Linked DNA regions of Homo sapiens: regions 2 and 3 are each linked to region 1. Evidence: promoter capture Hi-C in human tissues and cell types (Jung and others, 2019). All regions are on one chromosome and are shown on one strand. The core of a region is centred on a gene start or on the middle of the fragment in contact, and the rest is flanking DNA. Distances in the headings are between cores, read along the strand shown.

Region 1 (3,301 bases), core at 521-3,020:
ACAAGAGAAACTCCGTCTCAGAAAAAAAGAGGGAGTAAATAAAGTAGATAATTTTTTTCCTTCAAAACTTAACCACTTTTAACATTGGAAACACTAATGGACGAATTTGTTTGAATTACTTAAAGTAATAGATTTGAGGCCGGGTGCAGTGGCTCATGCCTGTAATCCCAGCACTTTGGGAGGCTAAGGTGGGTGGATCACTTGAGGCTAGGAGTTCAAGACCAGCCTGGCCAACATGGTGAAACCCATCTCTACTAAAAATACAAAAATTAGCCAGGCTTGATGGTGCATGCCTGTAATCCCAGCTACTCAGGAGGCTGAAGTATGAGAATTGCTTGAACCCGGGAGCCGGAGGTTGCAGTGAGCTGAGATCGTGCCACTGCACTCCAGCCTGGATGAGAGAGCCAGACTCTGTCTCAAAAAATTAATTAATACACTAATAGATTTGAGCACTAGCATTTGTCATATACCACCCTGTTTGTTCTACTTATCTTTAACTAGACCTGACATTTCTAATTTCATTCCTTCTCAGACCTCAGTTGGATGAACCCATTCCACTGTATGAGGCAAAAGTTTCCATGGAAGCTGTTCAGAAAAATCAAGGAAGAAAAAAGCAAGTTGTTCAATTTTAATTTTCTTCTTTCTCAGACCTCAGTCGGATGAACATATTCCAGTATTTGAAGCCAGAATTTTCTTTGGAAATTGTTGAGAAAAACCAAGGAAGATAAAACAAGTTGCATTTTTAAGCACGTTTCTCTGCTAAGACAAGATGCTCAGTTGACACATTTGAAAAGTGTTTGAAAAATTCTTGTGCAAATGATCAAGATAATTCTATAATTAACATCTTAAGGGAATTTTTCTAAAAACCTTTTCATTGTTTCTATATATTTTGCCCCTGCTATAAAATTCCTTCCATGAAGAAAACTGCTGCTTTCAGCAAAAGTCACACTACTCTTGATAAAAGCTGTTGCAGGCCTTTGCTAAGCTATCAAAGTAACGTATTAATTTTGTATCAACTCCGTTCTCAACACCTTCCTTAAGTCTTTGCTGTCATAATTTAAGCATTTGAGTATATTTTGAAGTCTTAAAAGACTTAGCCCATAGGCACTTAAATTTTGTGTTTTCAACTATTCATTCACTCCGGCTTTCCCCAGGATCAAAGAAGATCCCATTAACTTGCCAGTGGCAGCTGCCTGGAAGTCTGAGATGACCAGGCACTGGGAACGGGGAAGGGAGGGATGTCGGTAGGCTGCGCTGGCATAGGAAGCGTGCTGACGTCTTATCTGAGTTCTCTGGGGGTTGAGGAAGGTGGCCTAGTCCCCTCTCCTCGCCTCTTGAGAGCAGTAGCCACTGCCCTCTCTTAAGTTTATGGAAGCAGCAGCCCATCGCCGCAGCTCAAGTTTGTTTCCTTTTCATCCAGGCGCCAAACCCCGGGCTGATCACATCCCTGCTGCGGGCTTAAATAGAGTTAAGCTATTTCGGTGCCCCACAGGGTAGTGCACATCAGCGCCCTGGATCGCATACTTTCCAGAAGCGTCGCTGAACCTGGCGACTGGACTCTGGCCGAGGACCTGGCAGAAGCGCCAGGGCAGGGTCACCGCTGGGACAGTGGGCGTTGACGGCCACCCGGGATCGCCGCTGCGGGCTGCGTCTCGCGGGCTGCCCACTGCGCATGCTCCGCTCGGAACCGGCGGGGGCGGAGGCGGGGCCGCGTCGGGGGCGGGAGCTCGGCGAGGCGCCACGTCAGGGGCGGGCCCGGCGCGCGCGGGAAGTCTCTGTAGGGCGGCCGGCTACCCTCAGCCGCCGCGCGTCATGGCCCTTTCGGTGCCCGGCTACTCACCGGGCTTCCGAAAGCCGCCCGAGGTAGTGCGGCTCCGACGGAAAAGGGCCCGGAGCCGTGGAGCTGCCGCCTCCCCGCCCCGTGAGCTGACGGAGCCGGCGGCCCGCCGAGCCGCCCTGGTGGCGGGGCTGCCTCTTCGCCCTTTCCCTGCTGCGGGGGGCAGAGGCGGTGGCAGCGGCGGCGGCCCGGCCGCTGCTCGGAGGAACCCCTTCGCCCGCCTGGACAACCGACCGCGGGTCGCCGCGGAGCCCCCCGACGGGCCGGCCCGCGAGCAGCCGGAGGCCCCGGTCCCGGTGAGTGTCTTGTAGCCTGGCCGCCAAGGGGCTCTTGTCTTTCGTGGGTTGAGCCAGCTGTGAATGGGGGATGGAAAGTCCTCGCGTTCGAGGCAAGGAAATGGGCGCGAAGACTTCGGCCGCCCGTGGCCTTAGGGTACCCCGCCCTGGGAGCCGCGATTCTGGCAAGGCCGGGTTTGTGGGAAGAGCGCTCCCCTGGCTACCCCGCTGCGGGCTGTGCTCACGGGACGCGTTCCCGAGGAAAGTGAGGGGGCCCCAGAGGGCAGCGAGGAGCCCCTTGGAGAGGACTTAGAGGTGACTTGGAAAAGAGCTCGAAAAACCCTGAGAGCCCCCATCTTGCAAGGACGCTGTTCGATGGGGCAGGTGACAAGCCCTGCTTCCCCCGTGATTTAGGGCCTCCCTTCTCTCACGCACTCCAAATTATTCTGGAGATGGGGGAATGTCGAGGATTCGTGGGGTCAGAATTCACTAGCATCTGTCTTACCCAAAGCCTTTTGGATCTTTCGGTTTGAAACGCCGGTCCCTGTTCCCCTCAATTTTGATACTAAAGTTCAGACACAAAACTGAAGTGTTGAAACTCATAGATTGGATGGGGTGCCTCTGAATTTAGGTGTACTTGCGTTTATTGAGAAACATGTATGCCAGGTGAGGCTCTGTACATATTTAACGCAAACTTCAGCATCCTTTAAATTTTAAAGGAGAATATATTTAACCTCAGTTTTTAGATTCTAATCAAGAAAATGATTTGCTATGGGAAGAGAAGTTTCCTGAAAGAACAACTGTTACTGAATTACCTCAGGTAATACTTTTTAAATATCATTAGAATGTGTATTTGTATAAACTTTTTTTTCATAGGATTTGAGCCTATTTTTAAAAATACATTTATACTTCTCAGAAGCATTTTGCTTGGAAAGTAGTTTTACAGAGAGGCTTGATCATCTCAACCAGGGATGAAAATACCGCATCAGCCAAGGTAAAGGAGTTGGTTTGATACAGTAATGATGACTGTAAAGATAGCCAGCGCTAAAATAGGCCTGATAGACGTGGGGGTTTTCTTTTACTCTCTAACAGTTTTTACCACTCTTCTTTGGGCAGTTGACTTCTCCAGTTCATCACTCAGAGCCAGCCCTCCTGGCCCACCTCCACAGGTTGTGGCATAGCACTGAAC
Region 2 (3,301 bases), core at 327-2,826, 210 kb before region 1:
TACATGCATGGGCTTCAATCCCAGGCAGCCTGGTCCCAGAGTCTCCACCCTGAACTGCCATCCTGTGACATGGCTAACGCACACAGGTCATCGGCTAGAATTAGGAATCTGCCACGGGAACATAATTGAAACAAATTATACTTTTATTCTCCATTGTCAAAAAATTACATTTATTTCTACTCTGTATGAATGTGATATTTTAATGCAGAAGTCTTTAAACTTAAATCTTAAACATTTTATTTACAATTTTTAAAATGTCTTTTAAGAAAGTATAAAAACATTTTTTGGAGGGGTAAGGATATGGTTATTCATGACAACAAAAAAACCATAATAAAAACAGTGGCCAGGCGCGGTGGCTCATGCCTGTAATCCCAGCACTTTGGGAGGCTGAGGAGGGCAGATCACGAGGTCAGGAGTTCTAGACCAGCCAGGAGTTCTAGACCAACATGGTGAAACCCCATCTCTACTAATAATATAAAAATTAGCTGGGCGTGGTAGCACACACCTGTAGTCCCAGCTACTTGGGAAGCTGAGGCAGGAGAGTCGGTTGAACCTGGGAGGCGGAGGTTGCAGTGAGCCGAGATCGTGCCACTGCACTCCAGCCTGGGTGACAGAGCGAGACTCCGTCTCAAAAAATAAAAAATTAAAAAAAAAAAAAAAAGAATTACTTTATATTTTCTACCAATGAAGGTCACCATATATACTGTATAACCATCTAATTTCTGACGTTAATTTGCAGTTTTTATCTATATAATTGGAATACATATTCCATATTATATTTTTATGCTATTTTCTGTATTATGCTATTTTATGTATTTTTCTGTATTTTATGTTTATTTCTACACTGTAGGAATTTAACAGTTCAGTGTGGTATAGTGTGAATAATAAAAGCATTTTATAAACTCTGGGGGTAAGAAAAGGATGGAGTTAATCAACATCCAAGGAGGAGATCCTTAGTCTGACCCCCAAGAAAACCATAAAACAATCCTGTAAATTGGTCTGGGACCCCAGATACCTCCCCACTGGCACTGAAAAACAAACAGAAGACTCTATATACCCATAAGAAAGTATGCACAGCTCTTGGCAGGTTAACTGAACTCAGCCCACTAAAGTCAATGACTTGCCTCAAGTATCCGTTTCTTCGCCTTTTTAATCTAATTTCTTGAGACAGAGTCTTGCTCTGTTGCCAGGCTGGAGTGCAGTGGCATGATCTCAGCTCACTGCAACCTCCGCCTCCCGGGTTCAAGTGATCCTCCTGCCTCAGCCTCCCAAGTAGCTGGGACTACAGGCGCGTGCCACCGTGCCCAGCTAATTTTTTGCATTTTTAATAGAACAGGGTTTCACCATGTTGGCCAGGATGGTCCTAATATCTTGACCTCGTGATCCGCCCACCTCGGCCTCCCAAAGTGCTGGGATTACAGGTGTGAGCCACCATGCCTGGCCTTAATCTAATTTCAATTACCAACTTTTATAATTTACGGGGCTGTCATTGGGACATTTGGTCATTTTTGTTTCGTGGAGTCTAAAATTAACTGACATTTAAAAGGCAAATACCCAGTAACAAAATCAGACACAAATTTCTACAATTTACTACAGTAAGTTACAAGTAAAAATAAAAATATCACAAATAAATCTTCAAACAAAAACAGATAAAAACATGTCTGTATCCTACACACTAAGCAGCGGTGGCAAATTTCCCCCTTTTGTACTAAAGTTTAATTTGCAGTTGAAAAACAGAAGAGGCCCACCCTGACCCTGCTGGAGAAGCCCTGTGTGGGGCACTAGCTCAGTGGCTTGGATTTTAAACCAGGCACTCCAACCCCTGTTAGCTGTTAGTAAAAGGCTGTGAACTGGCCATTAGCATGCAAATGAGCACACCAAGTGTCCCAATTTCCTTGTATAATTCCATTTATCTACATAGTAGTAGCTTGAGAGAGCTCTGGGAACCAACCAAAAACTTCAGAGGGTACTGATACATGCAAAGATTCATATATACACGTGTTTGTGTTTGCACTCACACTTCACATGCACACTAAAGACTGAAGGCTCTTTCTGGTGCAGTAACTACTTGGAGAAGCCAAGCAAAGAATAGTAAATCCTCAAAGTTCCTTCCAGATGAGTCCACAATCCAAAGAAGACTCACCTTTGGGCTTCTTCTTTTTGTTTTTCTAATTCTATGATCTTTCGTTCTTGTTCTTTCTGTTTCAGTCGTTCAGCCTCCATGGACTTTTGCTTCTGGAGTTGTTGCTTATTGTGTATTTCTCTTAGTTCCTATAATTAACCGAGAAACAGTTCATGTAGCGACATGAGTGACAGGTACATCAACTATTTATCAGCATGCAACATTTCATAGTGGGAAGCCTAGGACACTTAGGAGATAACGTTTCAGAGTTGGAAAAAGTCAACTTGGAAAGCTAGAATCACACCACATTTTGACATGACTGATTTCCAAAGGCCACTTAAGATTACATTCTAATGAGCCATACACATTATACCATTTTCCATGATCTGCTCTAGAAGAAACCTGCTAGCGAAGGGCAGGAGGTGAGCTCTGCTGCTAAAGGCTCAGCAATCATAATGGAACGTAACCAGTTCCAAGATATGACGATGATCATGAATAAAACTTAAGCTTCTTTTGATTATCAATCAACACCAACCTTTACTGGCTTTGAAAATACAGATGCCTCTTCTTCACTGACTACCTCCATTCAAACCTCACCTCCACCTTTCACTAAGCTGCCTTAGAACAAATGGACATCTCTTTGCTCCTCAATTCTTTGACCTCAATTCTTCCCCCCAGGGTCTATTTTTCTTCAAGTTGCTCCTCTTCCAGAGCATCTTTTCTTACTAAATCTATCCTTCAAGTCGCTAACTGCCCCAAACTAAACCAGCAATCAGGTTAAAAGTAAAAAGCTATAATTTGATGATGAATACCTTGGATCCAATTTCCTCACTTGATACTACTAGCTGCAGGAATAGCAGTAATTTCCTTAGCAGGCTACTGAAAATAAAATGCATTCTATGATATTTAAAGTACTCAAGTCACAAGTTTAGACACCTGAAAATAGGAAGAATAAGGAAACGTCTGCTGAGGAAGAAACTCCCTGATTCCATAGAAATCAAATGGTCACCAATAGATTGAGTCACTGAAACTCGTCTTATGTGGGCCAGCGATAAATCAGATGAGTCAAAGTGCCCAGTAGAGCCAAGGTATCTTTCCAGCTGATTTCTTGATCTAACCAGGGCTGGTCCTCCCAGTACATGGCCCAGGGATCTCTATGGGGAGAGTTAAGGACTAAGA
Region 3 (3,301 bases), core at 453-2,952, 130 kb before region 1:
TCTCCTGCCTCAGCCTCCCGAGTAGCTGGGACTACAGGCGCCCGCCACCACACCTGGCTAATTTTTTGTATTTTTAGGAGAGATGGGGTTTCACCGTGTTATCCAGGATGGTCTCCATCTCCTGACCTCGTGATCCGCCCGCCTCGGCCTCCCAAAGTGCTGGGATTACAGGCATGAGCCACCGCGCCCAGCCTACATGCTCTTTCTTCATAGCGAGCTGCCTTCGTATCACTAATTAACTCAGGGAAGTGAAGTATTAAGCACCCTTGGTGAAAAAAATGAGACATCTTAGAGGACAACAGAATTCAGCATGGCTCTCCAAAGCCATGAGCCAAGAATCCAAAACTGTATTTGCCACCCTTTTTATTATACTCTCTGTATTTCCTGTGGCTTAAAAGATTGAATGCCTATTTGTGATAGTCAAATAATTCACTATTATCTATTAATGTTATGGATTTACCATGCACTAACTCTCAAATATTTTCTTTACCTTTTATTCTTCAGTCAATGAAAGATAAAAAATCATTCCATTATAAAGCAAGAAATGTGGGACATTCAAATAAATGTGGGTGATATGGGTGAAGCCAAAACTAATTGGTGAAGGAACACCAAAATTTAGATGTCTCCATGGAAATTCAACTTTTTGACAGTGTTGTCATTCAAATGTCACCACTTTTTTTGTTGTTTTGTTTTAGTTCCATATGAGAAAGACACTTTTCAGACATAACTCTCTGGTAAGAAGTAACAAGATATTTCAGGCTAGAGATACATGTTCTCCTTTTATAACATAAGAAATCATATTACCAAATAGAACAAAACGATATTTTATTTTGCCTTATGCTTATGTAAAATTTCATGTAAAATTCCAACTTACCATATCTGTGCTAAAACAGGTTGAGGTAACCCAGATTGAAAAAAAAAGTTTCTAGCTTGATCACCTGTAAATTAAACAGAAAAAGTTTCAGGAAAAAAAAAAAAAAACAACAGCTGACAGAAATCCTGTAATAGCAAAATTACAAAATTTACAAAGAGGCTGGTAATACTATAAATACCAGTTGAGTGCATTATAAAAGTCCAAGGATAAGCCCATAGGCAACAGTAAAAGAATCCATCAGCACTGACTTTAGAATTCAAAAAATCATCTCAAAAAGGGCCTACCATTTCCTGGCATAGATTTTCCACTTTAATTAATCTGCTATTAACTAAGATATGAACAGCTACCCATTGTGCAAAAGCACATTTATAGAAATCCTTAGGAAACTGATGACCCATACTTTCACTTTATAAAAAAAGTTATTTGCCATTCCCAATACCTATACTCCAAATTCTGGGTACTTCTGAAGTATTTACAGAGAATAAATAACAATGATTAAGAACGACACCTGAGGTCAGAAGTTCAAGACCAGCCTGGCCAACATGGTGAAGCCCCATCTCTACTAAAAATATAAAAAATAAGCTGGGCATGGTAGTGGGTGCCTGTAATCCCAGCTACTTCGGAGGCTGAGGCAGGAGAATCGTTTGAAACTGGAAGGGGAGGTTGCAGTGAGCCGAGATCACGCCATTGTACTCCAGCCTGGGTAACAAGAGCGAAATTCTGTCTCAAAAAAAAAAAGAAGAAGAAAAAATTAGCTGGGCATGGTAGCAGAACAATTCCCCTGGAAATAAAGATTCCACTTTTTATAAAGTGAATTCTGAAAAATAATCAAACAGGAAAATTAGTTTGTTTATTTTTGAGATGGAGTCTCGCTCTGTCACCCAGGCTGGAGTGCAGTGGCGTGATCTCGGCTCACTGCAACCTCTGCCTCTAGGGTTCAAACAATTCTCCTGCCTCAGCCTCCAAGTAGCTGGGATTACAGGCGCCCACCACGACACCCAGCTAATTTTTTATTTTTAGTAGAGACGGGGTTTCACCATGTTGGCCAGGCTGGTTTGGAACTCCTGACCTCAAGGGATCTGCCCACCTCGGCCTCCCAGAGTGCTGGGATTACAGGTGTGAGCCATTGGTCCTTTGATCTTAACCAATTCCCATAAATTACATGCACAAAACAAGTGGTTTGACATGCACTAAAAATTGCAAACAAGGTATGATTCCATTATGTGTAAAAAAATTGTAAAAGGACAGGCACAAGGTTAGGGCAAAACAGGTAAATGTCTCTCCTTGGTCATATTTGCCCATCTCGTCTTTGCATGATAGAGTTTCCACAGACATCTGCACTACTGATAAGTAAAAATGAAAAAATGCTGACTGTGATTACCAGTAATGAATCCAGATATTGGCTTTAAACTATGGAACTGCTGATCATGCTTCGCTCTTTCCTCTACAGTTATGGCCCAGATATCCAGGCTGCCTAAAATCCAAAGAAAAGACAAACAAATTATTCAGTGAGAAAAGGAAAACAAAATGCTCTCACACACTATTTCCACAGCACTTCAAGATTCTGTCAATGTATTATAAAGACTTGATAAATTCACATCTTCTTGTCCTTGGAAGTTATGCATATAAAGTTAGAAAAGTGTAAAACAGGACACAAAATGTAAGAAACAGAAAGAGAGAGAATGGGAGGGAAAGAAAAGAAGAGGCACACATTCCTTTTTTAGAAACTTGTTTTATAATCCCATAGTTAGCAAGATTATAGTAAATTAATAATTTACTTACATAAACCCAAGCAACAGACTAAATTAACTTAAACCTAAAACTGTACTCTCAAGTGCCTTAAATGCCACAGGCAAAAGTTATGAAAGAAGAAGGTGAGTGTGATAAATATCCATGAAAATCTTTTGGGGGGTGATTAAAATATTAATATATTAGATTGTGGTGATGGCTGCACAACTCTATATAATTTGCTAAAAATTATTATACAACTAAAGCTAGTAAATTTTATGGAATATAAATTATATTTCACTAAAGCTGTTTTTAAAAACAGGTATCTCAGTATGCAGGAAACAGACTTAAAAAAAAAGAAGGGCAGGGGATGTCCTGATATGAAATAATAGCCAAAGAGAATGGGTTTTAGGTTTTCCTTCAGTTTCAGCTCTTAGGCTGACTAGATGTCCACTCACGACTGAGATCTTGCAGACTTTAGTCCTAGGTCTCCTCAAATTGACTAAAATAATTCTAGATTACATACATGAAAGCTTTCAAAAGCTCGGACACCTTCCACAAAACTGGGAATACACAATACGTATGTTTCACACAAAATGTGAATGTGCCCAGCACACCAGCAAAAACATCTAAACATTGCATCTCTCCTCTCTACCGGGTCTGGGATGACACTGACAGATAAAGTAAAAATCCATTCAG

What was found. The method cuts DNA at HindIII sites, captures the fragments that hold promoters and counts their contacts. A contact is called where the count stands out against the background at its distance.
Region 2: a fragment that was not itself captured here is called in contact with the fragment with the promoter of DONSON in region 1 in 5 of the 25 tissues and cell types used here (IMR-90 fibroblasts, heart right ventricle, hippocampus and 2 more).
Region 3: a fragment that was not itself captured here is called in contact with the fragment with the promoter of DONSON in region 1 in 2 of the 25 tissues and cell types used here (H1 embryonic stem cells and mesendoderm cells).

The regions. Positions count from the first base shown.
Region 1 is chr21:33,587,153-33,590,453 of GRCh38, reverse strand. DONSON (DNA replication fork stabilization factor DONSON) reads left to right here and starts at 1,770. Exons shown (of 10, transcript NM_017613.4): 1 at 1,770-2,133; 2 at 2,852-2,932. The coding sequence starts at 1,813. CRYZL1 (crystallin zeta like 1) reads left to right here. Exons shown (of 13, transcript NM_145858.3): 13 at 533-1,113. The coding sequence ends at 632. RefSeq lists an enhancer at 1,582-2,081 and a silencer at 1,540-2,229. The HindIII fragment of the contact is 19,336 bases long and covers 1-3,301 here.
Region 2 is chr21:33,793,311-33,796,611 of GRCh38, reverse strand. It overlaps ITSN1 (intersectin 1), which reads right to left. Exons shown (of 40, transcript NM_003024.3): 17 at 2,144-2,271. Among named protein-coding and RNA genes, the nearest start is that of ATP5PO, 120 kb to the left of the region's middle. The HindIII fragment of the contact is 8,773 bases long and covers 1-3,301 here.
Region 3 is chr21:33,720,225-33,723,525 of GRCh38, reverse strand. ITSN1 (intersectin 1) reads right to left here. Exons shown (of 40, transcript NM_003024.3): 3 at 2,256-2,348; 4 at 875-938. Among named protein-coding and RNA genes, the nearest start is that of ITSN1, 79 kb to the right of the region's middle. The HindIII fragment of the contact is 4,833 bases long and covers 1-3,301 here.